3 separate regions of the Homo sapiens genome follow, and all the other regions are linked to region 2. Evidence: promoter capture Hi-C in 16 types of primary human blood cells and fetal thymus (Javierre and others, 2016). All regions are on one chromosome and are shown on one strand. Each heading gives the region's core, a stretch centred on a gene start or on the middle of the fragment in contact. The rest is flanking DNA. Distances are from core to core; before and after follow the strand shown. Region 1 overlaps TDRD3 (tudor domain containing 3). Region 2 holds the start of DIAPH3-AS2 (DIAPH3 antisense RNA 2). Region 3 overlaps DIAPH3 (diaphanous related formin 3).

What was found. Contacts are between HindIII fragments. The CHiCAGO score rates a contact against its expected background, and 5 or more counts as called.
Region 1: a fragment that was not itself captured here is called in contact with the fragment with the promoter of DIAPH3-AS2 in region 2 in 1 of 17 cell types (activated CD4 T cells); the score reaches 5.1 in activated CD4 T cells.
Region 3: a contact is called between a fragment that was not itself captured here and the fragment with the promoter of DIAPH3-AS2 in region 2, in 1 of 17 cell types (M0 macrophages). The highest score is 5.6, in M0 macrophages.

The regions. Positions count from the first base shown.
Region 1 is chr13:60,415,535-60,418,854 of GRCh38, forward strand. All of the region lies in intron 1 of TDRD3 (tudor domain containing 3), which reads left to right. Among named protein-coding and RNA genes, the nearest start is that of TDRD3, 20 kb to the left of the region's middle. The HindIII fragment of the contact is 2,742 bases long and covers 166-2,907 here.
Region 2 is chr13:60,143,390-60,146,354 of GRCh38, forward strand. It overlaps DIAPH3-AS2 (DIAPH3 antisense RNA 2), which reads left to right and starts at 1,309. Exons shown (of 3, transcript NR_046540.1): 1 at 1,309-1,474. The region is part of intron 1 of DIAPH3 (diaphanous related formin 3); the gene reads right to left. The HindIII fragment of the contact is 1,601 bases long and covers 805-2,405 here.
Region 3 is chr13:59,880,266-59,883,445 of GRCh38, forward strand. All of the region lies in intron 20 of DIAPH3 (diaphanous related formin 3), which reads right to left. Among named protein-coding and RNA genes, the nearest start is that of DIAPH3-AS1, 130 kb to the right of the region's middle. The HindIII fragment of the contact is 220 bases long and covers 1,309-1,528 here.

The sequences.
Region 1 (3,320 bases), core at 287-2,786, 270 kb after region 2:
CTCAATGTTAGCTAACTAAACAGACCAATGCAATCTTTATAACTCATTCACACACTTAAAGAATATGAGAATTTTGAAGAGTACATTAATTTTTCTGTAAAACATGATTAATATCAAATTGTAAGATGTATGCAAATAAAATTGCTTTCTTTTCTCAAATGGGCAAGCTTTGTACAGATGCCTTGATGGATCTTCCGGGAACTACCATGTCCAGAGATTTATTGAGTTTTAAATAAGAGCCATGAAAAGATCAGATTTGCCAAGTTTACAAAGATAGTTCTGGCCTTTATTTCAAGGATAGGTGAAGAGATCAAGGCTCAAGCAAAGACAATTTACGGAAAAACATTCTTTAGAGACAAACTTCATCAATATATCTTTTTCTTAAGGAAAAGTGAAGAAAGGGAGAACTCTGGTTGGCCGTCAGTGTCCTTGACTTGTCTCCTTCCCCTATTTAAAAATAGAATCAGTTAATAATGTTTATTAGTGTTAATGTTGGACATTTTAAAATACCCTTTGCTTAAGAATTAATAACTTTGTTGGATGGCTCAAAAATTGTGTTTTGGAAGTTGATAAGGTATTGATTTTAGATTTAACATGGTACAATATCAAATCATGGCAAAAATGATCCACTTTATGATTTCACTGACTCTTTTCAATAATTAAGGTTTCTCTAAGTGTAAAGTGTAAAGATTTTTAGAGGAAGATGTGGAAGTACTCATAATATAGTTCTTAGTCTAAATTTCTAATGAGATTTTTTTTTTAACTAAGGAAGTTTTAAGAACAGATTTACAAAACAGTGATTATTGAAAGATGGTGATACTTGCTCTTACCTTTCCCATGATCAGTTGAGCTGATATGGTCAACTACTAATTCCATTCTTAGTGCTATTTCCAAAGCAGTATGTGAATGAAGCTGTATTTAAAACATTCATTTACCAAGTAGATATTTATTAAGCAAGACTTTTTTCTCCAAAATCTGAGTTTCCTTTTTTAAGAAAATATTTTACGAATGCCTTTTCTTGTTGTTGTAATGTTTAGCACATGTATGACTGTGTTCATGTGCACATTTGTTTGCATTAGTCTTACTTATAGCTACTGTTTCTTTGGGCTGTCTGCTACAGTCTGGCTTGTGCTTCTTCCACACTGCTGAAATGCTTTTGCTAAAGTACCAGTGACCTTCCAGTTGTGAGATATCTTTCAAATTTTTCCTTACTGGCTCTGTTACTTTGGACGGTTTATGTCTATCTTGGAATTCACTGTTAAGACATAGTGTCTTAAAATTCACTATTCCTTGTCTCCCCTAACACTGTTCTCCTCATCTTGTTCTTGTTCTCTTCATTCCTTTCTCATCATTCGTTGTCTTTTTATGATATTCTTATCATACCTTTCCCTGGCTTTTCTTAGTTTCCTTATTGGTACTAACAAAGTTCTATCTTTGGTCCACTTTCTTGTTCTTCTGACTTTAACTGATCAGTCTCTCTCTCTCTTTTTTTTTTTTTTTGAGTCCAGGTCTTATTCTGCTGCCCAGGCTGGAGTACAGTGGCATAATCATAGCTCACTGCAGCCTCAATCTCCTTGGGTCAAGTGATAAACCCACCTCAGCCTCCCAAGTAGCTAGGACTACAGGCACACACCACCCCACATGGCCAATTTTTTATTTTAGTAGAGATGGGCTCTTGCTATGTTGTCCAGGCTGGTCTGAAACTCCTGGCCTCAAAGGGCTTCTCCTGCCTCAGCCTCCCAAAGTGCTCGGATTACAGGTGTGAGCCATTGTACTTGACCCAGTCTCATTTGCTTTCATGATTTAAACTAATTTCATTTTTTTTTTTTTTTTTGAGATGGAGTCTCACTCTGTTGCCCAGGCTGGAGGCTATCCCAGCTCACTGCAACCTTTGCCTCCTGGATTCAAGTGATTCTCTTGCCTCAGCCTCCTGAGTAGCTGGGATTACAGGCTCCTGCCACCATGCCCAGCTAATTTTTGTATGTTTAGTAGAGATGGAGTTTCACCATGTTGGCCAGGCTAATCTTGAACTCCTGACTTCAGGTGATCCACCTGCCTCGGCCTCCCAAAGTGTTGGGATTACAGGTGTGAGCCGCCACACTGGCCGATTTAAACTAATTTCTATATACTGATGATTCCTAAATCTTTCTGGGCCTGAACTTCAAAATACAGCCTTATATATGAAATACTCTGCACAATTCGAACTAGGTATCCCAGGGGCACCTCGAACTCCTCATGCCTTTCACTGTACTTCTCTTCCCCTCCATCTCCCAAGTTCTTCTTCTCTTTACACTCTTGTTTTAGAGGTGGTACACTCATCTCACCATTCATGAGTCATTTTTTTCTTTTTCCTATTCACTCATATCTAAATTAAGAATCAGACCTGCCAATTTTACCTTCTAAATATTTTTCTACTTCAGGCCTTTATTCTTGAGAGTAGCCTCCTGATTGGTCTTCTTGCTTACTGTCTCAAATCTGTCTTTTCTATAGGTGTTAGAATGAGTTATCTATAAAGGTTGTCTAATCTTTAGATCTTTTGTCACCTACAGGATGAAGTCTGTCTTACAAAGGTATGCATAGCCTCTTGTTTCTTTGTGGCATCCATTTTTGCTCCTACCTCTCCAGCAGTTTATGCTCTAACAAGACCAACTTGCTTGTGGGTCTCTTATGTACATGGTATTTTATGTCCTGCCACTGTACCATTTCTGATCTTGTCCTTTCTGCTTGGATTTTTTTCTCCATTTAAGTTAGTTAATTATTGTCCATCATTTTAAAACATAACTGTCATCTGTTATAAGAAGTCTTCCCTGATAGAAAGTAGGTACCCTTCTTCTGAGGTCCTTTAACATTCTGTCTCTAGCTCATTGTGCTATAATTGTTTATATGTTTGTCTCCTCAAGTAAACCAAGCTTCACTGGGACTAAACTTATTTGAGGTCAGTACCATGGTTTTTTCATCTTTGAATTCTTGGGACTAGTACAGTGTCTGCCACAGAGTAGATAGAGACTCAACAAATGTTTATTGAATAAATAAACTGAATGGACTTGTCTTTTTAAATTGCAGCACAATTAATGTACATTAAAATGCACAGCTCTTAAGTGTTTAGCATGATAGGTTTTGATAGTTGTGTACGTTTAAGTAACCCCCATTCTAAATGTTATATAGAATGTTTTCATCACCCAAGAAAGTTTTCTCCTGCTCTGTTCCTTCTGTGCCCACAGATAGTCTTTTTCTGACATCTGGCATCATGAATTCACTATCTTGTAATTGGATATTATAAAAATGGAAACCTTATTTCTTCTGACATCTTAGAAGTATAA
Region 2 (2,965 bases), core at 59-2,558:
TCTCTGAGCCTGAATTTCTTAACTGTACTATGAGGCAAACAAGCATCTTCCCCATAGGCTTGGTAGAAGACTTATAGAAAAGACCATGGTACACAAAATACTACACCTGAGGTTCAGAAACTTTGACCAATGTTATTCTGCTTCCTTCACAGTAAGATCCATATAGGCATCACCTGGGTTCAGCTCACTCATTCTCAAGGATACTCCCAATAGTCTTCTCCTCCTCTAGGGCCCCATAACCAGTCTGTAATCCATCTAAATCCATTTTAAATGTGTACTGCCTCTCCTGTGGGCTTGATTTTTGTCATGGTCAATTTACCAGCAGCTCTGTTTTGCTGGGTGTCAGTTATGTTGGGCTGCCCTCTGGGGCCTTTCACATGCTGTCATATTTCTTTGGGGCTCAAATATGGGGGTTGAAAAATCTATGCAGTGGCAGTTTCCTAATGCCATCCCCAGAGCCAGCATGTTGCCAGGGCCTCAGGAGACTCACAGTCAGATGGACGAATCAGATGTGAGGTAAACAGATTAAGTAGGTACTGCAGATAAAAATTTAGAGTAAGGGTGGATCAACCTTCATTATTATGGAGAAATGATCTCATTTCCTTCTTCCCACAGCCCTTTTGTTTACAATTCCCTTGGGTCACCGATAATGGTTTGTCTTGCAGTTTGTGTTTATACCTCCTTTTCTGTTTGTATGTCGCAGGTACTATGTTCCCCTCAACTTTGAATCCCCAGCCCTACCATGGTGCAGGGAACATTTTAGGCAGTGGTTATCAACCTGACTACATATGAGAATCACCTGAAAGCTTGTTTTCTTTTCCCAATACGGATGCCTATGTAATATCCCAGCCCAAATGAATCAATACCCAAAGATGGAGCCTGCCATGGATAATTTTAAAGGTCCCCAGGTAACTCTAATGTGCAACCTGGAAACAAAACTACTAAAACTAGGCAAACTATTTTAGACTCAGTCTTTCAGCACCAAGACTGTCATCAAGAAATCTCCAAAGATCCCCACATGTAAACAAGGTAGACACCTGTGGGTGTATCTGCCTCCTGCACACTGTCTCTTCTCTGAGAATGCCTATGCCATAGAGGTAGGCCCACCAGTCTTCACTGTTCCTTGTAAGCCAGCCCTAGCCGCAGCTAAACACAAGGCAGAATATAAACCCAAGCAGAGCCAATCAAATCTCCATTTTCCCAGAATTCTAGAATTGGAATTCAGATATGAAAATCAGGCTCTACTCTTGCACGGACCAAGGACATGTATGTCTATCTGGAATTATGAGGTTCTAGGCTTGGCTGTGTGAAGATCAAAGCAGAGGAAGCCACACAATGCAGAGAATCAACAGTGGAGCTATGCCTAGTGAGAAGCAAAGAGACACTGGATGGCCTGAGAGGGAAAGAGACTGAGAAAAGCTGTCAGCTTTTAGTTCCTGGTTCCAGTCCTTTGTGACGGCCAGCTTGATTAGAGGTGCTACTCTTGTGTATCTTTACAATTCCTCCTTTCAGGATTACAGTAGATATTGTATAGGGATCTGTTCCTTTAGACCAAATGGGCCTTTAACTGAGACAGAACCCAAGATTGCTAAATGGGTCCCTAGGTACCCATATGATACAGCCCACCTTATCACTACTACTACACCTTACTGGACACTTTGCGATTACTAGTATACCCAGCAACCCTAAAAACTCGCTATTATCCCCATCTTAGAGAACAGGAAATTGAACAGCACAGAAGTGACTTATAAGGGTTGGTGAGTACCTAGGCTGGGAATGAGTCAAAAATCCAGCCTCACTCTCCTTCCTTTCCCTCAGTCCCCAGAACTATGATGGGACAGCCAGCTGCTGAAGCAGTTTCTGAATTATTTATGGAGCAAAGAATTCAAAAATGAAATCTTAACAAGAAAGATGAGCATAATTCCAATTGGATGATTACTAAATGATAACAACAACACTGACTACAAAACCACACCTTAAAACCAGGCGCAGTGGCTCACGCCTGTAATCCCAGCAGGGAGGCTGAGGCGGGTGGATCACAAGGTCAGGAGATCGAGACCATCCTGGCTAACACAGTGAAACCCCGTCTCTACTAAAAAAAATACAAAAAATTAGCTGGGCGTGGTGGCGGGCACCTGTAGTCCCAGCTACTTGGGAGGCTGAGGCAGGAGAATGACGTGAACTCAGAGGCGGAGCTTGCAGTGAGCTGAGATCGTGCCACTGCACTCCAGCCTGGGTGACAGAGCGAGACTCCGTCTCAAAAAACAAAACCTCAAAGATAAATGGGCATGGAGGGGGGTTGCAATTTCTGTCAATTGACTAACACTAATAAGAATACATGGTTTGCTAGGGTGTTTCCTCCTTTTTTTTTTTAAGTTGCTCTCAAATGTGTAATAGAAATGAAAAGCTTTTTTATTTCTCATTTATAGATTTTTAAAGCTGGGGTATATACCACAAACCTTATAAACCATACACTCCCAATTCAGACTGAAACATAAGCCAAAATTATCCACATTCCAACATGTCACTAAAAAATGCTTGTCAGGAATTATAATACAACAGCTAAAGAAAATTTAATTTCTTAAATTATTGATAAAGTTTGAACTTATTCTAAATAACTGAATTACCATTAAGTTTTCTTGTATAATTTAATACTACTTATTACACCCTCTAAGTTGTTTTATCTCTTAAAAGGAATCAAAAAGATGATTACATATTTATAAAATGAGCATCTGAAAAATGAAGAGCACAATTCCAGTTTTTACATGCAGTTCCAGTACTACGCATAAGATGTAGGTTACCTTTTACATTTCTTTCAGAAATATTAACCAAACAGGATATAGTTACTGCACATCTAAGTTACCAGGCCACCAGGTGCAGGCTGGGTCATAAAGACCTATAAAATATGGTACCTGCCCTGAAGAAGTTTACAATCCAATAAGTTCTAGAGGAAAAAGAAATAAGC
Region 3 (3,180 bases), core at 169-2,668, 260 kb before region 2:
GAAGACATACCACATATGAAGCTAGATATGAATTCCTTGACCAAACACACTAGGGATTTGGGACTTAAAACGCACTGAAGGGGCGGTAATAGTAAAATTGTTGAACTTCAACAACTATTGTAAATATCAAAAGCAGGTTAAGGCAAGGTCAGAAAAAAAGCAGTGACAGATTAAAATAGGGACTGTTTCTCCCTTAGTCACAGACTGTAAAGGAAAGGCTAAAAAACAATGCTATATGAAGCCTGTAGGATGCCAAATATAATGAAAATCATGATTGTTTGGGATACAGAAAGCTATCAGCTCATAATATAATAATGACCGTTACTTAAAATATACTAGACAAAGGCTTATAAGACTCCAATATATTATAGACACTGCCTTAATGACTAAACATAACTCAGCTTACTCATCTGACAAAAATTGAGCAATAAAGAATTAGTTCTTTGTACACAACTCTGAGAGAATATTTTCATATAGACCAAAGCCCTATAGTGAATGAAAAGTTCCATTTTCAAATAATATAAATATCTAATTTATACTTAGCTTTCTCCCCAGACCCTTGCCAAATTAAATGGTTATTCATATACAATCAAGATTCTAAGGGCTCAATTAATGTAGTTATTAATAAGAAGTCTACTTTACAAGGCACTTTAAGGAACGTCTTCATATTCCACTGTCTAGGAAAAACAAAGAATGTAAGTTCAACAAGGACCAAAAAAAAAAAAAAAAAAAGAAGAAGAAGAAATATCATTAAGTTTATAGAGTAAGTTTAAGCGATATGAAATTATAAAGAGACAAAGATGTACTATTATAATGTTGATTCTTATTGGGCATGAATTGTTCTTTTTAAGCAGTGATCACTTATCACAAAGACATTTGTCTTAAAATATATTATATTTTAAGACAGATGGGTTCACTTACCTGGATTTTTTTTATCCTTAACCATTGCAAAAGGAAGATGTTCATATGACACTGGTAACATGAATAATGCTCTATTACACTTAATATGTCCTTTAGAGCAGTCAGACATACAAAAGAGCACTCACATGTAGTACCTGTAGTTATGGCCATTCTGAAGGTGTATAATGGGCTCATAGCATCGCTGTTTTCAGTAAGTGCCATTATTCATGATTATGAAGCCAGGTACTTGCAATACATATGAGAAGAAATTCTCCAGTATTCTATGCAAAACATTTGTATTACGAAATATATTAATTCTAACATATATTAATGTACTACTACATTCATGCACAGAAGAAAAAAGAGACTGCTTAAATGCCTACATTATACCACCCCAAAATATGTTAAAGCTTTCCTGCTGACAAGCTAACCATATGTAGCCAGCATAGAGTAATTAATTCTCCTAGAAAAATATAACCTAGATTTGTATGAATAATGAGTGTATCTGGCACTAGGGACAGGTACCTTGAAAAGATAGAGTAAGTCTATGATGTAATGCAGAACAAAGTGCTACAAGTTCATGAAAATCCCTGACAAGGCAAAGTCAGGAAATGTAACCTAAAAACAAAGCTTTGAACAACACTTAAAAAAAAAATTAGATGTCCTTTTCCTATTGTTCTTTCTTCCAAGTTTAGATAAATCAGTATTTGACTATTATTGAGTAAATGTGTTTTAATAAATAAAATTATTGAGTGGGAAAAGAACTTGAAAGGTCACCTGGAGAAGGTGCCTGTCTTTAGTTCACTATTTAGTCATATGATGACCCCTAGGCCAAATGGTTGCCCTTTTTATTTAACAACAAAATATCATTTAAGGTTAATGTTCCAAGATCTAAATCATGGAATCTATGATAATAACAGAAGGGTTACTTTTCTTTTTTTGAGGCAGAGTCTCACTCTGTCACCCAGGCTGGAGTGCAGTGGCACAATCTCAGCTCACTGCAACCTCTACCTCCTGGGTTCAAGCAATTCTCCTGCCTCGGCCTCTTGAGTGGCTGGGATTACAGCCATGAGCCACCACGCCCGGCTAATTTTTTGTATTTTTAGTAGAGACAGTGTTTCACCATGTTGTTCAGGCTGGTCTCTAACTTCTGACCTCAAGTGATCCACCCACTTGGGCTTCCCAAAGTGCTGGGATTACAAGCATGAGCCACTGCGCCCAGCCCTTTTCCTCATTATTTGAATCAAACTTTATTTCTTCAGGTGGAATCAAATAAAAAGGGTTAAGAAGGGGGAAAATATATGTATATGTAAAAAGCCCGACCAATGTTTCCGCATCCTCACCACTTCTCATATTCTATCAACACTGGGGATTTGCATTCTGTTTTCCTGCTAAGAAAACTAAACTTCTGACTTGTCTAAGACTAAGTGGAAGGCAGAAATGAACTATGGTGCTCAAATAATACTCTGAATGGCAACAGAAAGTCATTTTTAAAAATGAGAAAAAGGAAAGGGTAAATGAACAATAAACATAAAATGTAAGCTAGTTAATAATTAGAATGCTAGAAGAAATTAGAATTTCATTTTTACAGTTATCCTTTAAATCTATTGTTACAAAGTCTTGGCAATATAAATTCACGAAACCCAAATCTGACAATAATGAGATGTAATCTGAAGATCAATCCAAAAAAGGAAAAATACATTGATTTCACTCCTGTTTTTCCTGAAGGCAGGGAGCAGTACTCCTGTAACCCCCCCACACACAGATGTCATATGTCAGAATGAAGAGATGTTAAAAGCAGTGACTGGTAAAAATCAAGAAGCAATATCCAGAACCCTAAGGGTAATTTTATTTCAAAATTTTGTTTGTTGGCAATATATGTTGTTAGAGAGGGAACAACGTAAAAAGACCTTTAGAAAAATCAATGAACTAACAAGTATTGACTGGGCCCCATTCAGTGCTGTGAGGGGCACAGGAGCCATAGCAGCTGCCCCTGTAGCCCTTATCGTTGAATTCTTTCTGCCTGTCTTAAGGAGTATAAAGTCAGAAAGGTCCCCAGGAAGATGTAATCTCTCAAAATCTCATTATGGTTCTATTTTTCACATATAATTTTATCCATTATTCTATAAGGAAAAAAATCATTTTTTACATCAACTTTGTTTAACACCATATCTACTTCTCTTTATACATTTTCTTTTATAAATACAGGTTGTCAGATGTTTTTTTCCCCCGTCCTACTATGCAGACTTAACATGGCACACCTCAGAAGGATTTATTTTT